Regions from separate parts of the Homo sapiens genome. Here regions 1 and 3 are each linked to region 2. Evidence: promoter capture Hi-C in human tissues and cell types (Jung and others, 2019). All regions are on one chromosome and are shown on one strand. Each heading gives the region's core, a stretch centred on a gene start or on the middle of the fragment in contact. The rest is flanking DNA. Distances are from core to core; before and after follow the strand shown. Region 1 overlaps ATAD2 (ATPase family AAA domain containing 2). Region 2 holds the start of KLHL38 (kelch like family member 38). Region 3 has its middle 31 kb from the start of MIR548AA1.

Region 1 (2,954 bases), core at 358-2,857, 300 kb after region 2:
TGTTCTTTGTATTTTTAGCAGACACTGGGTTTCGCCATGTTGGCCAAGCTGGTCCTGAACTCCTGACTTTAGGTGATCCACCCGTCTCTGCCTCCCAAAGTGCTGGGATTACAGGCATGAGCCACCGCGCCTGGCCAAATATAGCTACATTTTTAAAAGAAATTTAGTATTCAAGTTATTTTAACCAAAAACTTAAAAATTCTGACAGAGTAAAAATGTATGTTAAATTAAGCTTTTTTAGAATTTAGCACATTGCATGTTGAAGATGATTAAACTGTATTCTGCACTTAATTTTAGTAATAATACTGTAGAATAATGCAAATAAGTAATTATGTGAATGTCATTAGGTAATAATATTTTCAACCTAAGAGAAAGAAGATACAAGTGTGAAATAAAGAAGTCAAATTACCCTAAATTGTTTTTTTTGAGACAAAGTCTTGCTCTGTCGCCCAGGCTGGAGTGCAGTAGCACAGTCTTGGCTCACTGCAACCTCTGCCTCCCGAGTTCAAGCAATTCTCCTGCCTCAGCCTCCCGAGTAGCTGGGATTACAGGCATGTACCAGCACACTTAGCTAATTTTTTGTATTTTTAGTAGAGACAGGGTTTCACCATGTTGGCCAGGCTGGTCTCGAACTCCTGATCTCAGGTGATCCACCTGCCTCAGCCTTCCAAAGTACTGGGATTACAGGCGTGAGCCACCCACTTGACCTGAAACCCTGATAGTCTTTACTTTGAATTGCAAATATCAATAGAAACTTGGGACAGAGTTTTTTGTTTTGTTTTGTTTTGTTTAAAGAAAAAAAAAATCCTAACTCTGGACACTTTAAACAGGCCTAGAAGCAATCACAATCCAGTAGCAATTAATGTCCATCCCTGAGTGTGGTCTCTAAATATTAGGACTCAGGAGAGATGGCGGATTGTAACACTGAAGCAGAAACGATCAAGACAAGCCTGGAATACTTTGTAATGCCTGAAAGCAATAAAAAAAAAAAATTACTGGAATCGTACCAGAATGACATAGGAGCCAATTTTGAGGGATCTCTCACTGGCTGAAGATGAAACAATTTGAGCATCAAAAATAGTGACTACAGTAGATAGAAATATATCAAATACCTAAAAAAAATCACTTTTTTATGTTGTTAGTTTTTTGTTGTTGTTGGTTTTGGTTTGGTTTGTTGTTGTTGTTGTTGTTGTTTTGTGACAGAGTCTCACTCTGTCACCCAGGCTGGAGTGCAGTGGTATGATCTTGGCTCACTGCAACCTCCACCTCCCAGGTTCAAGCTATTCTCGTGCCTCAGCCTCCCCAGTAGCTGGGATTACAGGCATGTGCCACCACTCCTGGCTAATTTTTGAACTTTTAGTAGAGACGGGGTTTTGCCATTTTGGCCAAGCTGGTCTTGAACTCCTGGCCTCAAGAGATCTACCTGCCTCAGCCTCCCAAAGTGCTGGGATTACAGGCGTGACCCACCACACAAGGCCTTGTTTTTGTTTTTTGAGACAGAATCTTACTCTGTTACCCAGGCTGGAGTGCAGTAGCATGATCACAACTCACTGCAGCCTTGATCTCCTGGGCTCAAGCAATCTTCCCACCTCAACTTCTCAGAACTACAGGCACACACTACCACACTCAGCTGGGTTTTGGTTGTTTGTTTGTTTGTTTTTTAGTAAAGATGAAGTCTCTGTTGCCCAGGTTGGTCTTGAACTCCTGAGCTCAAGTGATCCTCCCACCTCAGGCTCCCAAAGTGCTGGGATTACAGGCATGAGCCACCATGCCCAGCCACCATCAGTTTTTTGTTGTTGTTGTTGTTGTTGTTTTTGATTTTGTTTTTGTTGTTTTTTTTTTTAAAAGAAAACATCTTATTTGTAAAAAAAAAAAAGGTATGATTTCTTAATTTCTATTCTTGGCATAAATTTTCTTTCCAGTGCAACCAAAACTTACGGAACCCTCTTCAGCACTGTTATTCAGAACTTGGAGTTCTATTGCTGGATAAAAAATTCATTCACAAATAAGCTGTGCAATTCGATCACCTTGAAGTTTTGACTTCAAACTTTTCTTTGACAAAACACCAATGTTTCTCCTATAACCTTCATCTAAGATACCCAGCTCCTAAGTGTTGCAGCCAAGCCAAAATGTAGAGCTACTCTTCCATAATACCCAGAAGGAGCAGCTATCTGAATGTCTGATAGCTTCTTCCATAGGTGGTACTGTATAATCATATGCACTGTATAGGTCATAGCCCTCGGCCTGTGTGGACTCCCAGCTCCCAGGTTGAGTCCAGAACCAGGCAAGGTGGAGCTACATGCCCCACCCCACCCTCCTGTGCAAGCCAGACCCACTTGCCGGGGGAAATGACAGGTGTCTCTTTGGAGCAGGGCATGGCAGAGCAAGGAGGTGAGGGGAGGAGATAGCCACGAGAACCAGAAAGTGCAGAATGAGCCTCCTCCCCATCACCACCACCCCCGCCACTGCTGGCAGGGAACACACCAAGATCTTAAAAATCATCAGTTTTTAGGGCCGGGCACGGTGGCTCACACCTGTAATCCCAGCACTTTGGGAGGCCAAGGCGGGTGGATCACGAGGTCAGGAGATCGAGACCATCCTGGCTAACACGGTGAAACCCCATCTCTACTAAAAATACAAAAATATTAGCCAGGCATGGTGGCAGGTGCCTGTAGTCCCAGCTACTCGGGAGGTGGAGGCAGTAGAATGGCACGAACCCGGGAGGCGGAGCTTGCAGTCAGCTGAGATCGTGCCACTGCACTCCAGCCTGGGCGACACAGCCAGACTCCGTCTCAAAAAAAAAAAAAAAAACATCAGTTTTTAATAATGTTTTTAATTCAACTGGTCACCTAAGGTTGCTGAGTTATTATTTATTACTCTGAAAATTGATAAGAGGGAAAGAATCAAACATTTCTTCTTCCTGTCCTATACAGGCCATGATTGAGGGTAATTCA
Region 2 (3,224 bases), core at 29-2,528:
TAGATTACCACACATGAGTGGCAGTAGACATGGTTCCAGAAGCAGACAGGACACCAGTCCGATTCTGGCTAAGGAGTCCTGCAGACATGGGGAGCCACTGAAGGGCCTGATGCTGGGGACTGGCAAATTCTGAGTTGCCTTCCCAGGGGCTGCTCCAGAGAAGACAGGGTGGATGTATTGGAGAGAGAAGTACTAGGAGCAAAGAAAAAAAAATGCATGGAAGACCATTGCACTAGTTGAGCAAGACGTTGAGTAGGAGACAAAGTCAGGCTTCCCTGCCTTTTGTGGCTAAGACAATCATGGACCTCCCTGAAGGCAGGGGCAGAACAGACCTGAGGTCCCCCTCACTCTCTCTCGTGATTCTGATTGTTATTGAAAGCTGCCTCCTACCACATCACTATCATCATTCCTCCCCCGATTCTCTACCTCCTGCTTCTTTTCCTCCTCCTCCTATTCCTCCTCCTCTTCTTCCTCCTCTCGTCTCTCTCCCTCCCTCTGTCCCTGCTTCTTCTTCCTCCTCATCCTCCTTCATCTTCTTTCTCTCTCTCCCTAAAGCAATATGCCTTGCCTCCTGCCTCTAGCTCAAGCTGCCAGACAAGACAAAATGGAAAAGTAAGACAGAAAAGGAAGTCTGAACTATAAAAAGCCAGCTGAAGAGCAATCAGCACGTGTCTGGGAGAGGCAGACGCGACAGGAGGAGCTCGGCCTTACCACTGTCAATCAGAGGTTCCTGAGTAAGGAGACCTGACAAAGGTTTGGGCCTTCAGGAGTCTGGAAACCCTGGGATGCTCAACAACAACAACAACAAAAAACAACAACTTTTGTCATGGATTTCATCACCTAGGATCCTGGAGGAGGAAATCACAGCTCTCCCCAGCGATCCCGCCAGGCAGATGGTGGGAAATAGAGATCCATTGAATAGCACCCACAGGCTCATGTTCCGGCTTCCCTTGTGACCACCTGCCACCTCCACTGTGGCCCAGAACCATCTTCAGTGACTCTCCACAGGTCACAGCAACCTGTTTACAGACGGCTAGAATTCCCAAGCACTTTTAGGACAGGGGACTCGGGATGGTTCCAAGCAGACAGCAAAGTCTTCTCTAAGAGAAGCCGCTCCTCCCGATCTATTTTTGCCGATGTAAACACTTGCCAAGGAAACGAGGCATGTGGGCATGCGCCGGCCCTGCAGGCCCTCGGGTTGCTGCAAAAGGCAACTGGAAAGTCACATGTCATAACAGTGGAAAGTACATATGCAACTATTCTTAGCCCTGGAATGTATACACTGTCTCCCTGCCCAGCAGTCCTTGCACAAAGCTCTAGAAAACTATGAAAGTGCCTTCAGCATAAACAAATCCAGAAATCTCCCAGGACAAATCATTTGCCAACTGAAAGAAAGGCCTGGGGTTTATGGTTTCCCTTGGAGCTAGAGGTAGAAACTCTCCGGGGGGATAAGTCAGACCAGGCACCAGTGGATGTCACCGCAGCAAAACAAGGTAAGTGTCCCTCATACTTATTTCTTCTGCAAGTAGAAAACCAGGTGTCATCCAATAAACCAGGGGATTGTTTGGTCTTTCCTTTTATTTATTCTATCTTTAAAACAAGACTCAATGAAGTCATATTTAAATATATGCATCAAAGGTCCATTTTCTTCCCTCATTTCTGTCCAGTGACCAGAGGGCCACACCTCCAGAATATCATCCTTGGGGAATGATTGACACCCAGAAAGAGAGGTTTAGACATCTGTTACTCAATAACAGATATGCCATCGATCTGGAAAAAGGCTCATGAACTTCTGCTGGTCAAATCCATGGACTGTTATCTTGCTTCAGACTAACATTTCAGCTTCTGATAACAGAGTAACTTCCAACAACTTTAGTTTGTTTGTTTGGTTGTTTCTCTCAGATTAGCTGAAGATACTATTTGCCTATTACTTTTGAAAATAACCATAACCCAAAAGGGCTCAGGTCTGAGATGTATGTGGCCTTCCTTTCCAATCTTCCCTACACAATATCCATGGTGACATCCGCAAACATCATGGGGAATGGAATAGGAGCACTGGTCTTGGAGTCCCCACAGCTGAACCCTCCAGCACATGCAGCTGAGAAAGGTTTGACTCTTGCTGACTCTGGGGGCTTCCTTCCCTCTTTGTAGGATGGACGAGGAGTCACTAGATGGGCTGCTCTTCAAAGACCACGACTTCTCTTCTGACTTGTTGAGGCAGCTCAACAGCTTAAGGCAAAGCAGGATCCTGACTGATGTGAGCATCTGTGCCGGTGCCCGGGAGATCCCCTGCCACCGCAACGTGCTGGCCTCCAGCAGCCCCTACTTCAGGGCTATGTTCTGCAGCAGCTTCCGGGAGAAGAGTGAAGCCAAAGTGCAGCTGAAAGGCATTGACCCCCCAACCCTGGACCAGATCGTCTCCTACGTGTATACGGGGGAGGCACATATTGCCACTGACAATGTCCTCCCCGTGATGGAGGCCGCCTCCATGCTACAGTTCCCCAAGCTGTTTGAGGCCTGCTCCTCGTACTTGCAGAGCCAGTTGGCCCCCAGCAACTGCCTGGGTATGATCAGACTCTCAGAAATCTTAAGCTGCGAGACCCTCAAGAAGAAAGCCAGGGAGGTGGCACTGACGTCCTTCCCAGAGGTGGCCGCATCGGCCGACCTGAAGGAGCTCTGTGCCTTGGAGTTGAGGGACTATCTCGGAGATGATGGGCTCTGTGGGGAGGAGGAAAAGGTGTTTGAGGCCCTCATGGTTTGGATCAAGCATGACCTCCAGGCCCGGAAGCGATACATGCAGGAACTGTTCAAGCAGGTCAGGCTGCAGTACATCCACCCAGCCTTCTTTCACCACTTCATCGCCAACGATGCCCTCCTGCAGTCCTCGCCTGCATGCCAGATCATCTTGGAGACCGCCAAGAGACAGATGTTCTCTTTGTGTGGCACCACCGTCCCAGACTGCAAACTCCTGTTGCATGTCCCTCCAAGAAACTCTTACCAAGATTTCCTCATCCTCTTGGGCGGAAGGAAGGACAGCCAGCAGACCACCAGGGACGTCCTACTGTACAGCAAACAGACCGGCCAATGGCAGAGCCTTGCCAAACTCCCGACACGGCTGTACAAGGCCTCTGCCATCACCTTGCACCGCAGCATCTATGTGCTGGGGGGCATGGCTGTCAGCTCAGGGAGGAGTCTGGTCAGTCACAATGTCTACATCTTCTCCC
Region 3 (3,125 bases), core at 91-2,590, 340 kb after region 2:
ACAGCCCAAAAGGAAAATTATGAAAGCAATTTTACTTATAATAACATCTAAAACAGTAAACACCTAGGAATAAATTTAACCAAGGATATATAAGAATTTAACATACTGATAACTACAAACTGTTGCCAAAAGAAATTAAGTAAGACCTAAATAAACGGAAAGACAGCCTGTATTCATGGTTTGGAAGACAGTACTGGTTAAGATGGCAGTAATCCCCAAAGCGACTACAGATTCAATGCAATTTCCATCAAAATCCCAATGGCCTTTTTTTGAAAAATAGGAAAGTAAATCCTAAAAATCATGATGTATTGCAAGGTACCCTGAATAGCCCAAAAAATCTTGAAAAAGGAGAGAACTCACTTCCTGACTTTGAAACTTACTACAAAGCTACATATATTAAAGCAGTATAATACAGGCATAAGGTTAGACATATAGGTCAATGGAATAGAAAGTCCAGAAATCAATATATCTATGGTCACTTGATTTTCAACAAGAGTGCCCACATCTATTCAATAGGAAAGAACCATTTCTTCAACAGATGGTGCTGGAACAACTGGATATTCACATGCAAAAGAATGAAGTTAGATCCCTATCTGAGAATAGCTAATGTGTGCTGGGCTTAATACCTAGGTAATGGGTTGATGTGTGCAGCAAACCACCATGGCACTCGTTTACCTGTGTAACAAACCTGCACATCTTGCACATTTACCCCAGAACTTAAAAGTTGATTTAAAAAAAAAACAACAACAAAATGGATTAAAGACCTAAGTTGAATAGCTAAAAGTAAAATTCTTAGAAGAAAACAAGGACATTTTCATGACCTTGAGTTTGGCAGTTAGATAAATTGGACTTCATCAAAATTTTAAAACTTTGTGCTTCAACAAATAATGTATATAACTCCTAAAACTCAACAACAAAAAGACAACCCAATGGATGTGGATATTTTTGATGACATTAACAATATTTAGGATACCAGGCAAATATTTTGGAAGATAGCTATTTTGGAATAGTCTAATGTTTTTCTCATGACCAGACCAGGACTATGGGTTTGGGGAAGGAAGGCAAAGTGGTCATATCAAGGTTGCCTACTAGTGATGTGATTCTTGACTATTGGTTGACTTTGATCACCAAGTTAAGTAGTATTTCTCAGGTTTCTCCACCGAAAAATTAATCTTTTCTGAACTATACTTCTCTCTTTTGAACTGTACTCTGAAAAGAAGTCACACAATGAACAGCCCACTCTTAAGGAGTGAGGAGTTACACTCTGCCATTTATTTTTAGGCCAGTTCTATCAGTGATCCCTAAATGTACACATTGTAGAGTTAATTGAGCTTATTTTAGACTCGTGTCTTCTCCCTACTACTCCCCACCTTATATACAGAGTATTTTATTGTTCAAAGTAATGTAATTAAGAGATTGCTCCCTGACATTGAGGAAAAGATTGCCAACTTGCCTCCTAATATCCATTCTTCCGTTATTTGTAACAAAGTCCCATTTGGAAAGTTATGTTTCATCCATTGCAGCAAAATATGGCCACGTGACTAAATTCTAGCCAATGAGATAGGGAATTGCACACAGTTTCTAGGAAAGCTCTCTGGAAGGGCAAGGATGAGAGTACTTTCTGCCTTCTGAGCTTCCTATACACACACACATATACACATATATACAGTTAAGAAGCATCTGTATGTGTGTGTGCATGATAATTTTAGGGAATTGCTGTTCAGTATCCTTGAGTGGATCTCTGTTACTGATAGTGGAATGTAATTCTTAACCAGTAAAAGCATATAAAATAAATATGTATTTTTTTCAACTTTCATTTACTATAAGCAGCAGATCCTGAGCAAGGCCTTTAGAGACCCTCAAGCATAAAAAATATTGTCTCCAATTCTTACATGTATTTTTTAATTTATTGTTAACATCTTTATTGAGGTATAATTTATATATCATAAAATTCACTGATCTTAACAGTACAATTTAATGATTGTTAATTTACAGAGTTGTGCAACTATCAGCATGAATCAGTTTTAGAACATTTCCATCTCCCCAAAAGAGAGATTTCCAGTCTCTTCCTCGTGCCCATTTGCAGTCAGGCCTCCTACCCCCAACCCCAGGCATTCCCTAACCTACTTTCTGTCTCTATAGATTTGCATTTTCTGGACAGTTCCTGTAAATGAAATAATATATAGTCTTTTACATCTGGATTCTTTCACTTAACATAATGTTTTTGAAATTCATCAGTGTTGTAGCATGTATCAGTAATTTGGTTTTTTTTTTTTTTTTAAATTTATTTATTTATTTTTTATTGATAATTCTTGGGTGTTTCTCACAGAGGGGGATTTGGCAGGGTCATAGGACAATAGTGGAGGGAAGGTCAGCAGATAAACAAGTGAACAAAGGTCTCTGGTTTTCCTAGGCAGAGGACCCTGCGGCCTTCCGCAGTGTTTGTGTCCCTGGGTACTTGAGATTAGGGAGTGGTGATGACTCTTAACGAGCACGCTGCCTTCAAGCATCTGTTTAACAAAGCACATCTTGCACCGCCCTTAATCCATTCAACCCTGAGTGGACACAGCACATGTTTCAGAGAGCACAGGGTTGGAGGTAAGGTCACAGATCAACAGGATCCCAAGGCAGAAGAATTTTTCTTAGTACAGAACAAAATGAAAAGTCTCCCATGTCTACTTCTTCCTACACAGACACGGCAACCATCCGATTTCTCAATCTTTTCCCCACCTTTCCTGCCTTTCTATTCCACAAAGCCGCCATTGTCATCCTGGCCCGTTCTCAATGAGCTGTTGGGTACACCTCCCAGACGGGGTGGTGGCCGGGCAGAGGGGCTCCTCACTTCCCAGTAGGGGCGGCCGGGCAGAGGCGCCCCTCACCTCCCGGATGGGGGGGCTGGCCGGGCGGGGGGCTGACCCCCCACCTCCCTCCCGGACGGGGCGGCTGGCCGGGCGGGGGGCTGACCCCCCCACCTCCCTCCCGGACGGGGCGGCTGGCCGGGCAGAGGGGCTCCTCACTTCCCAGTAGGGGCGGCCGGGCAGAGGCGCCCCTCACCTCCCGGACGGGGCGGCTGGCCGGGCAGAGGGGCTCCTCGCTTCCCAGTAGGGGCGGCCGGGCAGAGGCGC

The links. The method cuts DNA at HindIII sites, captures the fragments that hold promoters and counts their contacts. A contact is called where the count stands out against the background at its distance.
Region 1: a fragment that was not itself captured here is called in contact with the fragment with the promoter of KLHL38 in region 2 in 1 of the 25 tissues and cell types used here (H1 embryonic stem cells).
Region 3: a fragment that was not itself captured here is called in contact with the fragment with the promoter of KLHL38 in region 2 in 1 of the 25 tissues and cell types used here (mesenchymal stem cells).

What each region holds. Positions count from the first base shown.
Region 1 is chr8:123,351,606-123,354,559 of GRCh38, reverse strand. All of the region lies in intron 13 of ATAD2 (ATPase family AAA domain containing 2), which reads left to right. It also overlaps the pseudogene DUTP2. Among named protein-coding and RNA genes, the nearest start is that of MIR548D1, 5.0 kb to the right of the region's middle. The HindIII fragment of the contact is 4,136 bases long and covers 1-2,954 here.
Region 2 is chr8:123,651,855-123,655,078 of GRCh38, reverse strand. It overlaps KLHL38 (kelch like family member 38), which reads left to right and starts at 1,278. Exons shown (of 4, transcript NM_001081675.3): 1 at 1,278-1,493; 2 at 2,152-3,224. The coding sequence starts at 2,153. The HindIII fragment of the contact is 9,515 bases long and covers 1-3,224 here.
Region 3 is chr8:123,315,757-123,318,881 of GRCh38, reverse strand. No RefSeq gene overlaps it. Among named protein-coding and RNA genes, the nearest start is that of MIR548AA1, 31 kb to the left of the region's middle. The HindIII fragment of the contact is 9,728 bases long and covers 1-3,125 here.